Linked DNA regions of Homo sapiens: region 2 is linked to region 1. Evidence: promoter capture Hi-C in human tissues and cell types (Jung and others, 2019). All regions are on one chromosome and are shown on one strand. Each heading gives the region's core, a stretch centred on a gene start or on the middle of the fragment in contact. The rest is flanking DNA. Distances are from core to core; before and after follow the strand shown.

The links. The method cuts DNA at HindIII sites, captures the fragments that hold promoters and counts their contacts. A contact is called where the count stands out against the background at its distance.
Region 2: a fragment that was not itself captured here is called in contact with the fragment with the promoter of NRIP3 in region 1 in 1 of the 25 tissues and cell types used here (mesenchymal stem cells).

Annotation. Positions count from the first base shown.
Region 1 is chr11:9,000,398-9,007,567 of GRCh38, forward strand. NRIP3 (nuclear receptor interacting protein 3) reads right to left here and starts at 3,604. Exons shown (of 7, transcript NM_020645.3): 1 at 3,365-3,604. The coding sequence starts at 3,538. It overlaps NRIP3-DT (NRIP3 divergent transcript), which reads left to right and starts at 3,691. Exons shown (of 3, transcript NR_183663.1): 1 at 3,691-4,146. RefSeq lists an enhancer at 2,781-3,700. The HindIII fragment of the contact is 10,801 bases long and covers 987-7,170 here.
Region 2 is chr11:9,479,157-9,486,326 of GRCh38, forward strand. ZNF143 (zinc finger protein 143) reads left to right here. Exons shown (of 16, transcript NM_003442.6): 7 at 316-390. Among named protein-coding and RNA genes, the nearest start is that of ZNF143, 22 kb to the left of the region's middle. The HindIII fragment of the contact is 7,913 bases long and covers 1-5,651 here.

The sequences.
Region 1 (7,170 bases), core at 2,354-4,853:
TGCTCTAATAGACAGAGATTCTGTTCAGGTATTTTATGGTAAGTTTGCTTTACTGTGTTCAACCATCTTTCCCCCAGCATCATTCCTAATTCTAGTCAGTTTTGAAAAAGCATTTAGCTATGATCAGAAGCAATCATATGTAGGAAAGAAAAACTCTATTGCCAGACAAGTAAGAATATGGCCTAATGCCTACAGGTAAGTATAATATCATTTAGGAAAGACAGCATATTACCACATAACATGACTGTTTTTAAAAATTAAAAAGTCCTTAGCACAATGAGAAAAACTTTTATGAACCTGGTAGCTAAAACAAGATAAATTACAATAGGCAAATTTCCAAGAACGGAGATGTTTTTCTCCAGCTTCACTGAGTTAAAAAAAAAAATCAGGGCTGGGTGTGGTAGCTCATGTTTGTAATCCCAGCACTTTGGGAGGCTAAAGTGGGCAGATCGCTTGAGACCAGGAGTTCAAGACCAGCCTGGGCAATATGGCAAAATCCCATCTCTACAAAAAATACAAAAGTTAGATTGGTGTTGTGGTGTGCACCTGTAATCCTAGCTACTCAGGAGGTTGAGGTGGGAGGATCTCTTGAGCCTGCGAGGTCGAGGCTGCAGTAAGATGTGACTGCAGCTGCATTCCAGCCTGGGCAATAGAGTGAGAACCCGTCTCTTAAAAAAAAAATCAAATATAATATTACTCACTCATATCTCTGGTTTTAGTTCTTAATCTAATACAGAATGAACAATACAAGATAAAAGGATAAAAGCAAAAGGGGCAGACAAAAATATAATTTCCACAGAAGACTTTGTATCAGCCAACTCCAGATACACAGGAATAGGCAAAGGCACTTTCCTGGGGCCAAGAGAACATGACCCCCTTTGATTTCCTATGGTTGCCTTCTGCCAGTCCTAAAAGAGCTGGCAGGCTGGTATCAAGCAGTGAACATTACAGAAACAGCATAGTAAGAGGTAGATAATTCAGAAATCCCAGCGGTATATTCAAATATAGGTTGCTGGTATGAGGAAAAACAACCTACAATCTTCACAAACCCAAAAGTCAATAACAACTAATTTCTCCTCTCTCTTCCTTATCTCCCTCTGATGCTATCCTCTCCCTTTTCTTGGACTCCTTCTATCGAGATTATACTATAAACTACTCCAAGTAAGAACTATTCAATTAATTTTAACATCCTCCAAATTTCCCTTGCAGTGAGAGAAAATTGAGTCAACACTGGTCTATCCCACATGTATTTATAAAGTAAAAGAATAATAATGTACTTCTAAGGTCACTTCTAAGATTGTACTAAGGCTGCAACAACAGTTCCAAGAGAGTTTAAGCATGCTGCCTCACCCCAGCGCTTGCGGCTCTCCTAGCCCTACCTCGGTCTGCCTTGGTTTCTGTAACCTGGCTGTTCTGTGCAATCACTTGTACATTATAGGTGTGAAAACAGTGAGAGAGGGAAATCAACTCCATGACGGTGGGGCACAGAAAGCGTGAACCATGATTCAGAGCCTTACAGTCAACTGTCATGTGTATGTGTCATACTCAAGGCAATATCCTGCTTCTTGAGGCTCCTTCCTCTTTGCAGCCTGCTGCCTGTGCTGTATGCTATCAGCCCTTTGTGACTCAACTGAGACAGACTAGAGTCAGAAAAGCGGATGGAATTCTTACACAGCATGAAGTAGTATAAGAAATCCTAGGCAGAAGGAAGTTCAGGTAGCTCTCAGGGCTAGGAAACTCCTCGACAACGAGGGACAACCAAATCCAGCATTTAAAAACTCTGTATTTTAATTCTTCTCTTAATATAATACTTCCTTCTTTATTGATTGCTGAGCATTCTAGGAACTAGGATAGGATTATTTGGCCTGAAGGAAAGAATACTTCTCGAACCTGATTTGTTAAATGAATCGAGATTGCTTTAAAGTGAAAGAAGGGAAAAGAGAGTTATCTCTTTTGCAGGAGCACATTTCAATCACTTATCACTCTGGGTTAGCATAAATCAGATAAACTATCCTGTGGGTTGTGCAAAAAGCAAAACAAAACAAAAAAACACAACTTGTAAAAAAAACAGAGCAAGATAACTGAAGTAGACAAACTCTGCACAGAAGTAACTAATGGCAGGGAGGAGAAAAATTTTTGTATATTATATTATACTGTGTATAATATAATGTACCTGTGTATCATTAGAGCTGTTAAATTAAAAAAAAAAAAAAAAAAAAAAGGAAATGGATGCAGAAGCTCTGCCCTCCTGGGGCCAGAAATGGCAATTTCAGTGAACTAGGGCCGACAACCACATCCAAAATTAAATATTTCAAAAGCTTAAAATAAAAAATACTAGAAAAATTATGCAGAGCACCTATTTCATTTGTTAAAAGACATTTAATTAGTGTTTCACATATTACCACCCAAATGAATAAAGCGATTGTGAAATTCAAGAAAACAATCAAACTACAAGAAAACTCCAGATAAAACTACAAAGTTAAACATAAACTTGGCCCAGGACCACTACAGTGGCTGAGGGATGACAAATACAGTTCTTTATATTGGTAACCCTTAGCCATCCATCCCATTCTATAGAAAGAGGACAGTACCATCTTTGACCCCAGGCCCCCTGTCCTGAGGTGCTTCTACTTAATGCCAGGAACAACTGTGCTAGAAAAAAAGACTGCACCCACCCCAGCTCCAGATGCACACATTAGCTGGTCGGTGAGATGCAGCAGCCTGGCTTCCTCCCTCTACCCACTCCTTGGGGGCGGGGCTGGAAGAGGAGAATGATGAAGAGATGTTGGGGGTTCAGGAAACCTTCACATTTGGCCCCTTTTCTCTCTCCCCACTCAGGATGGAAGGTCAAAGTTAGGACCAAAACTAGAGAAGTGGGTTTTGCATAGGGGGACAATGGATTCAACAGAAGTCCTCTGGATCTGGCAACTGTCAAAAAACCCTCTTTCCACTTCTTTCCCCCTCACGGAAAGCCATTAGGAATCACCTCTGTCTGGGTCATAGGAACAGCCACACAGCATAGGAGGCACAAGCCCCGTGAACAAAATTCGGTATTAAGAATAAGGAAAAAGAAAGAAGACCCGAGGGCAAGAGGGCAGGGCAGGACCTCTTCTTTCTACTGGAGAAGAGACATCCAGGGAGGAGGCACAGCCGAGGGGAGCGCAAGCTAGAAAAGCTACGACGGAATCCCCACCGAAACCGCAGCAGGGGTACTGGAAGGGGAGGAATCCGCGACGCAGCGACCGCGAGCCAAGGGCAGCGGCGGGCCGGGCCGTGACTCAGTGAAAGCCGCAACGGCCGGGCCTCGGAAAACGGCGGGCGCGAAGCCGCCGGGGCCGGGGCGAGAACGGCGGCGGGGGCTCACCATGTCCTTGGACGAGCCCAGCTTCTTGAGGCCGTCCAGGGGCAGCAGGTCGGCGGAGTCCTTGTGGATGAACTGCACCGCCTGCTTCATCCGGCGCTGCTGTCGCAGTGACGCCGCCTCCCGCATGTCGGTCTCCTTGCGGCCGCCCTCAGTGAGGAGCCCTGAGTAAAACATCGCTGAGGCGCCGGCGGCCCGGTAGCCCACAGCCCCCCGGCAGCCTCAGCCTCGAGCTCCTCCAGCGCCGCAAGGGCCCCGAGCCGCGCCTTTTATAGCCGAGCGTGACGTCGCGGGGAGCAGCCAGTGCGCGCGCGGGGGGCGGGGCCGGCACAGAGTCCACGCCCCGCGCGGCTCCCTCGCGTCCCGCGTCCCGCGTCCCGCGTCCCCTGCTCACCCGGTGGCAAAGCCGGCGAGGAGGCGGCGGCGCTGGTGGGGACTGACCCGGCAGTCCGAGAATCCACCGCGGCCTTTTCACCCAACCGCCCCCTCCTGCGTGGGGGCCCCGCATCCCCTGGACTGGCGTGGGCTCTGGGGCCCGATGCCCTGGCAGCCCCGGCCATCTCTGCCGCTGGCCGCGGGTACCTGCTCACCTGTCCACGCCGTGGCCGACCCGGGGATCACCGACAGCCGGGCCATGCCTCGAGTCCCGCCGCCCGCGCCGCTGCTCGGCTTCTCAGAAACGCACCTCCACGCCGCCAGCCGGGGCTCCAGGGTCCACCGCCCGGGCCCGGAGGACTGGCGACTCCCTCCGAGGTTGGGAGCGCTCCGGATTTCTCCAACTTCAGGTCGGTCCCCACCCACCGGGCCACGTGACTGGGGAGGGGGCAGCCGGTGCAGGCGTGTGGAGGAGGCTTTCGGGACCTCCTCCCCCGGGCACCCTCTGCCTGCAGCCCGGCACCCGGCCCGCGTTTCCGAGCCGGGGGAGCAGGTGCAGTCGGAAGCCCGCGGGTGGGCGTGGGGCGGGGGAGTGGCGAGGGTCCCCCGCCTCCGCGGGAGCGCACGCGGCTGCGAGCCCTACACCTGCTCTCCGACCAAAGAAGCACCTGTTTTTCTCAATAAGTGCTAGGGCTTACCATCTAAAGGATCGTTCACCATCCCTCCAGCGTCCTTAGTAGGAGCGATTGGAACCCGTTTTTCTTCCTGAATAATCCATACTTTTAAGCCATTCTAATCGGGCCTTCAGGCATCCTGGATTCTGGTCTCGACATTGTGATTTGACACAAATCACGTTTTCACTCTGGAAACCACAACTACTCCCTCCACCCCATCACGCAGGAGCAGACCTGGATAAGAAATATGTGCACTCTGCAAAGAACCAATGATAAAAGTAACAATATCGACGCTTACTGAGCCTTTACTATGTGCCAGGTACTAGACTAGACACTTAAAATGCAGTATCTCATTGGATCCTGGCAACAGCTTGTAAGATAGTATTCTCATCACCCCCATTTTACAGGCAAATACCTGATACCTTCTGTCTGGCCTCCTGAATGCTCCTTGGTTCCATTCCAATACGTTGTTCACTGTGCTGCCAGAGTAATCTTCTCAAACGATAAGTGTGATCATCTCACTTCCCTGCTAAGAGCACCTCAAAAGGCTTCCTATTGCTCTTAGGAGAAACCCACATTCTTGCATGGTCTGCCTAGACCCTGCATATTCACTCTGTACTTCAGCCTCATGGGCCTTCTTCCAGTTCCTTCCAGTCACCTGTTGCCAAATGGCCTGCCTTTGACTGTCCTGTTCCCTCTGTGTGCAGTGCCCCCTCCTACCCTCTTCAGGAAACTCCTATGCTTCTTCCAGACCTCAGCTCCATTATCATTTCTTTAGGAAAGCCTTCTCTGACCTTCCAGAGAGAGTGAAGTCTCTCTAATTATATACTATCTATCTCTTGGGCATTTGACACTTTCTGTGGGGGTAGGGGTAGGGGGGTACTGGTTGTTGGATTAATATTTGTCTCCTCCACTGATTGGAACCTCCAGGAAGGTGACTGAACCCATTTTTTGCTTAGCATTGATGCCCTAATATGCAGAGGGTTCTCAAATACTAGTGAAAGGATGGCAAAAAGTTAAGGTCGTACCAAAGAAATCAAGTGGTAAAGCTGGCATTTACTCCCAGAACCTGTGCTGGACTACCTAGACCTGGAGAGACTGGGTTTGGCCTCATGAAGCTGCTTCTTTTACTCTGTTCTGCCTTCAACACTTGCCCCAGTTTCAAAGACTGTTTGTGGGAAAACAAATACAGAAGGCTGCTCACTTGGCTTCAAGGAAGCCCCAGGGCTGGATTCCTCCCTGTGTGCCCATCCCCTACTTTCCCCTACACACGGAGGACAGAGTCTCTAGGAGACAGGTGGGATTGCTGTTCACCTTCCAGTCCCCTGGCACACTTCCAGCAGTGAACAACAGTGGCTGCCCTGGCCCCTTCTGTCCCATCACCTGGATCCCTGCCTGATCACTCCTCCAGGTGCAGATCACCCAGGGAACAGTGAAAGTCAGCTTTGCCTTGTCCGTCTAGGAGAGGTGCCTCTGAGTTTGGCAAAGCATCAGGGCAGGTCCAACAGTGAGGGCCCCTAGGGCTTGGGCTGGGACAGTGACTTTCCTCAGGGAGGAAGCCAGGCAGGTAGACACTCTCGGGGGGAGTTGGAATCCCCACTCTCCAGGCTGCTCAGCTCAGACCTGCAGCCTTTTTTGCTGAGGATGTCCTGACAGAAGAAAGGGGCTCTTTTCAGAGCTAGATCCCCCTGGGAACACCAGGAAGCTGAATCTCTCTAGTTGAACTGGAATTTGCCCATATCAAGTGTTGCTGAAAAATAAATGGTGCCCGACTGGAACTGGGAATCTTTTTGTGAATTCAGAGCCCTTTGGTGTAGTGGGATTTGTGTTCTGCAGTTGGGTCTGTGGCTGCAATACCTGTTGGTCCCCTCACCTGTCTGAGACCTTCCTTGGACAGACTGATACCATCACTGCCCTCAAGGTTCAGTGTGGTGAGGCCAGCTCCTTCCTCCCCCCACACATTATGAGTATTCGCAGACTACAGACTGCCTGCTTAATTTAAGGAGAGTTATCTCTGGGTGGTTTATCCTGTTTGCCCAAATGACTTTGAGTAAATCACTTCCTACCTCTGAGCCTCAGTTTCCATATCTGTAAAATGGATGTAGTGAGACTGCATATACAATTGTGCTTTGTAAACTCTCTAGGGCTGTACCAACAGAAAAGATTATTATTAATTCTCCATATAGCCAATCAACGTCCCCTGCCTCATTGACCCATCTTGGAGGAAGTAACATACAATATGGTTGTTAAAAACACAGGTTTTGGAGTCTAATACACTAGATTTGAATCCCTGCTCTGCTGCTTACTAGCTATGTGACTAGTTAGTTACTGCACCATTGTGAGCTTTCAGTTCTTCATCTAGAAAATTGTGCCAATATCTCTACTTCTCAGGGCTGCTGTGAGAAATAAAACGATAGACAGTGTAATACATTGGTCATGTAGCATAGGCTCAGCAGAAGGTAGCAACCATCATTACCTGGAACAACTTCAGGAAAAACTGTAGGTTGCAGAACCCTCGAATTGGGGCTGGCCTATCCTTTCTCCAGGCTTCCCTACAGAGCTTCAGACATGAAGCCAGACTTGAGTATCTTACCCTATCCCTAGAGCAGAGGCCTGCTGAGGCAGGGGCTGGCCAGCTCTCTTCCTCTCCTCAGTGTCTCCAGATTCTGGACTTTCCATGTGCAATGGCTCTATCCTAAAGTTCTCTGCATCCTCCCTTGGCTGTTATAGAAGACCTGTACTTGAAAATCATACTAGAAA
Region 2 (7,170 bases), core at 445-2,944, 480 kb after region 1:
CTTTTTTTTTTTCTTTACAAACAAAATAAATAGAGACAGGGTCTTGCTCTTTTGTCCAGGCTGGTCTTGAACTCCTGGGCTCAGATGATCCTCCTGCCTCAGCCTCCCAAAGTGCTAGGATTACTGGCATGAGCCACCATGCCCAGCCTATTATGGAAATTTTCAAATATACACAAAAATAAATGATAATGAAGCCCCATGTACTTTTTTTTCTTTTTCTTTTTTTTTGCAAGCTTCTCCCTGAACCATGTACTTAACCAGCCTAAACCATTATCAAAATGTAAAACATTTTAAAGCTTTATTTTATTCCTATAGGTGTCCATTGATGGAAGTGAAAGTGTAGCAGGTACTGGAATGATTGGAGAAAATGAGCAAGAGAAAAAAATGCAGGTATGTAAAGCTACTTTTTAATATAAAAATCTAGCTTAGCATTTCTGTGCCCTTCTGTGGATGAAAGCAAGAATAGGTAACTCACTACCTCTCTAGGAAAATCTCACCAGTTCAGAAAAACAATGTATGTATTGGGCAGCAGCTTTCTCAAACTGCCTGAGGTCCCAGTGTTCATTGGTGGATGCAAAATGATGCTAAAGAAATGGAAGTATCACAGAAATCCAGGTGAAGCTTGTGTGCTGGATTCCAAGGCAGTTTTCTGGACAAGGCAGTTGTGGAGACCAGGTGACTTCCTGACTGCCCCCACCCATGGCATGGCAATTTGTGGATACTTTTTCTGGGACTTCATCATGACTCTTTCTAAATAATCCTCACTGCTTTGCTTTTTGTATTTTTAAATTTCTTCTTCTTCCAGCTGATTCCCTCCATATTTTCCTTTTCAACTTCTGAAGGGAGAGTCCAGCCTAGTTAATCTTGGACAAAGCTGTTTATACTTTTTCTACCAGACTGCTTCCTGGTCTGCAGGTGGCCTGTGGGCTGGCTTCCCGTGGTTCAAATGTTCACCCTGGGTCCAGTCATTGGCTGCCCCTTACCTAAGTAACAGCCCAGAGCACCAGTGCTTCTAAAAGTTTTGTAGTAAGTACAAAGTAGTCCCAGGTGCATTCTTGCATATCTCCTACAATCAAAAATTCAAAACTTATGTTATTCAAGAATTGTTTTTGTGTTGGGATGTTCGTGTGGAGGGTATGCTTGGAGCTTGTATAATCATTGTAGTACATTCCTGCTTTAATGCTGCTCTTTATTTTCTCAGCAATTTTCTCTAATATTTTGTTGACTGTTCCTTTATAGTAGTTTTTTTTTCATTCTTCAGAGTTTTATTATATTTAACTCCTAAAGTTACTACTCAGGGTCACATTTATAACCTTGAGCATTAACATGACCACTTAGTGACATTGAGTGATACTGTTAGGGGTTATCAAGAAGATTTTACATTTATATTAATAGTAAGTGATAAAATAACAGGAATCACTGAAATCACTTGTAGAAATATGGTTCTGGCCGGGCGTGGTGGCTCATGCCTGTAATCCCAGCACTTTGGGAGGCTGAGGCGGATGGATGACTTGAGGTCAGGAGTTTGAGACCAACTTGGCCAACATGGTGAAACCCTGCCTCTACTAAAAATACAAAAAATTAGCCAGGTGTGGTGGCTAGTGCCTATAATCCTAGCTACTCAGGAGGCTGAGGCAGGAGAATCGCTTGAACCCAGGAGGCAGAGGTTGCAGTGAGCCAAGATCGCGCTGTTGCACTCCAGCCTGGGCAACAAGAACGAAACTGTCTCAAAAAAAAAAAAAAGAAAAAAGAAAAAGAAATATTATGCTTCTACGCGTTGCTGAATAGCCAATATTTCTGTTTACCAGCTGAAGTGATGCTACAAAGTGGCAATAGAATAAACACAGTTTTCAGTTCACTAAGCCCATCAGCTTTGATGCTGTGTGATTCGTAGCAAAATTTTCAGGTCTCAATTCATATTCATATTTTGTGAATGAAATGAGACTTTAAGGCAGGTGTGGTGGCTCACACCTGTAATCACAATACTTTGAGAGGCTGAGGTGGGAAGATTGCTTGAACCCAGAAGTTTGAGACCAGCCCGGGCAACAAAGTGAGACTCCATCTCTACAAAAAATTACAAAATTAGCAAGGCATGGTGGCACACATTTGTAGTCACAGCTGTTTGGGAGGCGAGGGCAGGAGGATCCCTTGAGCCCGTGGTTTGAAGTTATAGTGAGCTGATTGTGCCACTGCACTCCAGCCTAAGCAACAGAGCAAGACCCTGTTCTCCCCCACCTCCCAAAAAATGAGACTTCAGTATTTTTTATACAGTTCTATGTCAAATCCACCTAAGTCAACCTCTACTAAGATGCAAACACAGGGTAAATATGTGCGGGAGTTATAGGTCAGTGGCTTGGAGTGTTGGAGTGGCCCAATAAGTTCTCTGTCTTATTGGTAACTGACAAGTACATTTTAAAATAATAGAATATTTTAAAGAAAAGCAGTTGTAGGCTGGGTCCAGTGACTCACGCCTGTAATCCTAGCACTTTGGGAGGCCGAGGCAGGTGGATCACCTGAGGTCAGGAGTCTGAGACCAACCTGGCCAACATGGCAAAACCCCATCTCTACTAAAAATACAAGAATTAGTTGGGTGTGGTGGTGTGCGCCTATAATCCCAGCTACTTGGGAAGCTGAGGCAGGAGAATCGCTTGAACCTGGGAGGTGGGGGTTGCAATGAGCCAAGATTGTGCCACTGCACCCCAGCCTGGGCAACAGAGTGAGACTGTCTCAAAAAAAAAAAAAAAAATTTCAGAACTCAAAACGTAACTAGGAATTCAGAACTGCTGAGGCAAAATGTCATTAAAAAAACCCATTACTCTTTTTTTTTTTTTTGAGGTGGAGTCTCACTCTGTCGCCCAGGCTGGAGTGCAGTGGCTCGATCTTGGCTCACTGCAAGCTCTGCCTCCCGGGTTCACGCCATTCTCCTGCCTCAGCCTCCCGAGTAGCTGGGACTACAGGCGCCCGCCACCACGCCCGGCTAATTTTTTGTATTTTTAGTAGAGGCAGGGTTTCACCATGTTAGCCAGGATGGTCTCGATCTCCTGACCTCATGATCTGCCTGCCTTGGCTTCCCAAAGTGCTGGGATTACAGGCGTGAGCTACTGTACCCGGCCCCAACTCTTTTTTTTTTTTAAGACGGTGTCTCGCTCTGTCGCCCAGGCTGGAGTGCAGTGGCTCGATCTCGGCTCACTGTAAGCTCCGTCTCCCGGGTTCACGCCATTCTCCTGCCTCAGCGTCTGGAGTAGCTGGGACTACAGGTGCCCGCCACCATGCCTGGCTAATTTTTTGTATTTTTAGTACAGATGGGGTTTCACTGTGTTAGCCAGGATGGTCTCGATCTCCTGACCTCATGATCCGCCCACCTCGGCCTCCCATAGTGCTGGGATTATAGGCGTGAGCCAGCGCACCCGGCCAAAAAATCCCATTACTCTTTATCTGTAGACATATTACCATTTGGTATTGGTACCAGTAGACAAATAGAAGACTACTGAATGGGATTCTTTTTTTTTTTTTTTTACTGTAGCTTTTTTCTCCTTTGCCTTTTGTACCTCTTCCTTACAGACTAGATCTGCAATGTCCAATACGGTTGCCACTAGCCATATGTGGCTGTTAAGCACTTGAAATATGACTAGTCCAAATTGAGATGTGCTGTAAGTGGATTTTGAAGACATAGTACGATAAAAATAATGTAAAATATCAATAATTTCTTATATTGATAACGTTGAAATGATATTTTGGACATATTGTGTTAAACAAAATAATTACTATTAATTTCACCTGTTTCTTTTAATTTTTTTCAATTGGTTACTAGAGATTTTTTGTTTTATTTTATTATTATATTTATTTATGTATTTTGAGATGGAGTCTTACTCTCTTGCCCAGGGTGGAGTGCAGTGATGTGATTTTGGCTGACTGCAACCTCCACCTGCTGGGTTCAAATGATTCTCTTGCCTCAGCCTCCCGAATAGCTGGGATTACAGGCATGCACCACCACACCCAGCTAATTTTTGTATTTTTAGTAGAGATGAGGTTTCGTCATGTTGACCAGGTTGGTCTCGAACTCCTGACCTCCAGTGATCAACCCACCTCAGCCTCTGAAAATGCTGGGATTACAGGTGTGAGCCAACATGCCTTTTTTTTTTTTTTTTTTTTTTTTTTGGAGACGGCATCTCGCTCTGTCACCCAGACTGGAGTGCAGTGGCGCGATCTCAGCTCACTACAACCTCCACCTGCTCAGTTCAAGCAGTTCTCCTGCTCAGCCTCCCGAGTAGCTGAGACTGCAGGCACATGCCACCGTGCCTGTCTAATTTTTTGTATTTTTAGTAGAGACAGGGTTTTACCATGCTGGCCAGGCTGGTCTCGAACTCCTGACATTGTGATCCGCCCACTTGGCCTCCCAAAGTGCTGGGACCACAGGTGTGAGCCACCATGCCTGACCCCTATTTTATTTATTTATTTATTTTTTGAGACTGAGTCTTGCTCTGTCGCTTAGGCTGGAGTGCAATGGTGCAGTGTTGGTTCAAGTTATCCTCCTGCCTTGACATTCCAAAGTCCTGGGATTATAGGTGTGAACCAATTTGCCCGGCCGGAATTCTTTTTTTTTTTTTTTTTTGAGATGGAGTCTCACTCTGTCACCAGGCTGGAGTGCAGTGGCATGATCTCAGCTCACTGTGACCTCCGTCTCCTGGGTTCAGCGGATTCTCCTGCTTCAGCCTCACGAGTAGCTGGGACTACAGGCACATGCTACCATGCACAGCTGACGTTTGTATTTTCAGTAGAGAGGGGGTTTCACCATGTTGGCTAGGATGGTCTGAATCTCTTGACCTCGTGATCCGCCCGCCTCAGCCTCCCAAAGTGCTGGGATTACAGGCGTGAGCCACCACACCCAGCTCAGTAAATTTTTAATCACATATGTGGCTTGCACTTGTGACTTATTATATTTCTCTTCATTAGTGCTGGATCAGAAGTTCATGACTTCACCATTCTCTAAAATGATTAATTACCGTATTTAAGGTTGAGAACCTAGTACTTGGTTTTTTGTGGTTTTTGTTTTTTGAGACAGGGTCTTGCTTTGTTGCCCAGGCTGGAGTGCAGTGGCCTGATCTCAGCTCACTGCAGCCACTGCCTCCTGGGTTTAACTGATTCACCTGCCTCAGCCTCCTGAGTAGCTGGTATCACAGGAGCGTGCCACCATGCCCGGCTAATTTTTTATATTTTTGTTAAAGAAATATTTAAAAAAATGTTTTTTATATTTCACCTTGTTGGCCAGGCTGATCACAAACTCCTGACCTCAAGTGATCCACCTGCCTCGGCCTCCCAAAGTGCTGGGATTTCAGGCGTGAGTCACCGTGCCCAGCCTGAACCTTGCTTTTCTAAGTCTCTTTTTTTCTACCTCTAAAAGAAAGGTATTAATTAGATCCATGGTTATCTTAGGGGCAAAAGTTTGGTGTTTTTTTTTTTTTGTTTATTTTTTGTTTTTTGAGATGGAGTCTCACTCTGTCGCCCAAGCTGAAGTGCAATGGCCTGATCTTGGCTCACTGTAACCTCCACCTCCCAGTTGAACTCCTGACCTCCAGTGATCCACCCACCTCAGCCTCCCAAAGCACTAGGATTACAGGCGTGAGCCACCGCACCTGGCCAAAGATTTTTTTTTTTTTTTGAGACGGAGTCTAGCTCTGTCGCCCAGGCTGGAGTGCAGTGGCGCGATCTTGGCTCACTGCAAGCTCCACCTCCCGGGTTCACGCCATTCTCCTGCTTCAGCCTCCTGCATAGCTGGGACTACAGGCGCCCGCCACCACGCCCGGCTAATTTTTTGTATTTTTAGTAGAGACAGGGTTTCACTGTGTTAGCCAGGATGGTCTCCATCTCCTGACCTCGTGATCTGCCTGCCTCGGCCTTCCAAAGTGCTAGGATTACAGGCGTGACCCACCGCGCCCGGCCGCCAAAGATTTTTTAAGATAATATTTTTAGTGTTTTTTTTAATTCAGGTAAAGTACAAAGAAGAAAACCCAAAATGACCCGTAATCTTACTCTACGTATCTATTTTACATATTTTTAAATATAAAAGTAATCATGTTTATGTTTAGAAAATCCAAATAGTATAGATTAGTAAAAATAAAAAGTGAGGGATCTACTGCCTGATAGTAATTATTGTTAGAAATCTGCTTTGTTGTTGTTTTTTTCTCTCTCTCTTTTTTTTTTTTTTTTTTTTTGAGAAGTCTCGCTATGTCACCCAGGCTGGAGTACAGTGGCACAATCTTGGCTCATTGCAACCTCTGCCTCCCAGATTCAAGTGATTCTCATGCCTCAGCCTCCCAAGTAGCTGGAATTACAGGCTTATACCACCATGCCCAGCTAGTTTTTGTATTTTTAGTAGAGACAAGGTTTTGCCATGTTGGCCAGGCTGGTCTGAACTCCTGCCCTCAAGTGATCCACCTGGCTTGGCCTCCCAAAGATTATAGGCAGGAGCCACCGTGCCTGGCCTTGTTTTTGTTTCTTAATCTTCCTGGCAGTGCTGATGTGTCTCATGGTTCTTTAAAAATTCCTCTGGTGCCACACTTCTAGGATTGTTTCCTTTCTTCAAAGAGAATACATTTTTAAAAATTCAAGTTGTTTTTATTTTATCCTCCCCCAAGAATATAGATTATTTACATCATACAAGTTAACAAACACCAGATTGTAAGTTATAGCTGCCATGTGCATTAGGCCGTTACAGTAAATGGGATTATAAGTACTAAACCAGACAATACAATGCAATGTTTATCCTCAACCCTACTGAGTCTCTCACTCTATAATTACAGAAGCTCTGCCAGTTAGGTTCCACTGGACTACAGCATCCTGAAACCTGGTTGGTTAATAGCTTGAGCTCTAGAGCCAAACTCCTTCAAATCTCACTTCCCAGCTTTTGACCATGGGCAAGTTACATTACTAAGCCCCTCTGAGTCTCATTTTTTCTATTTGTAAATCATAGTTGATATTGAATTCATTGGATAGCCATGGGGGCCAATTAGACAGTGTACGTAAAGCAGCCACCACAGTGCATCACATAAATGCAACTGCTCAATAAATGTCAGTTAGCCTCTTTATTATGAGGTCACCTTGGAATTTAATCTTAGCTCCAGTCTTGTATCTACCTCTGGAATTTGCACCTCCTTAGAATATAATGGTCCT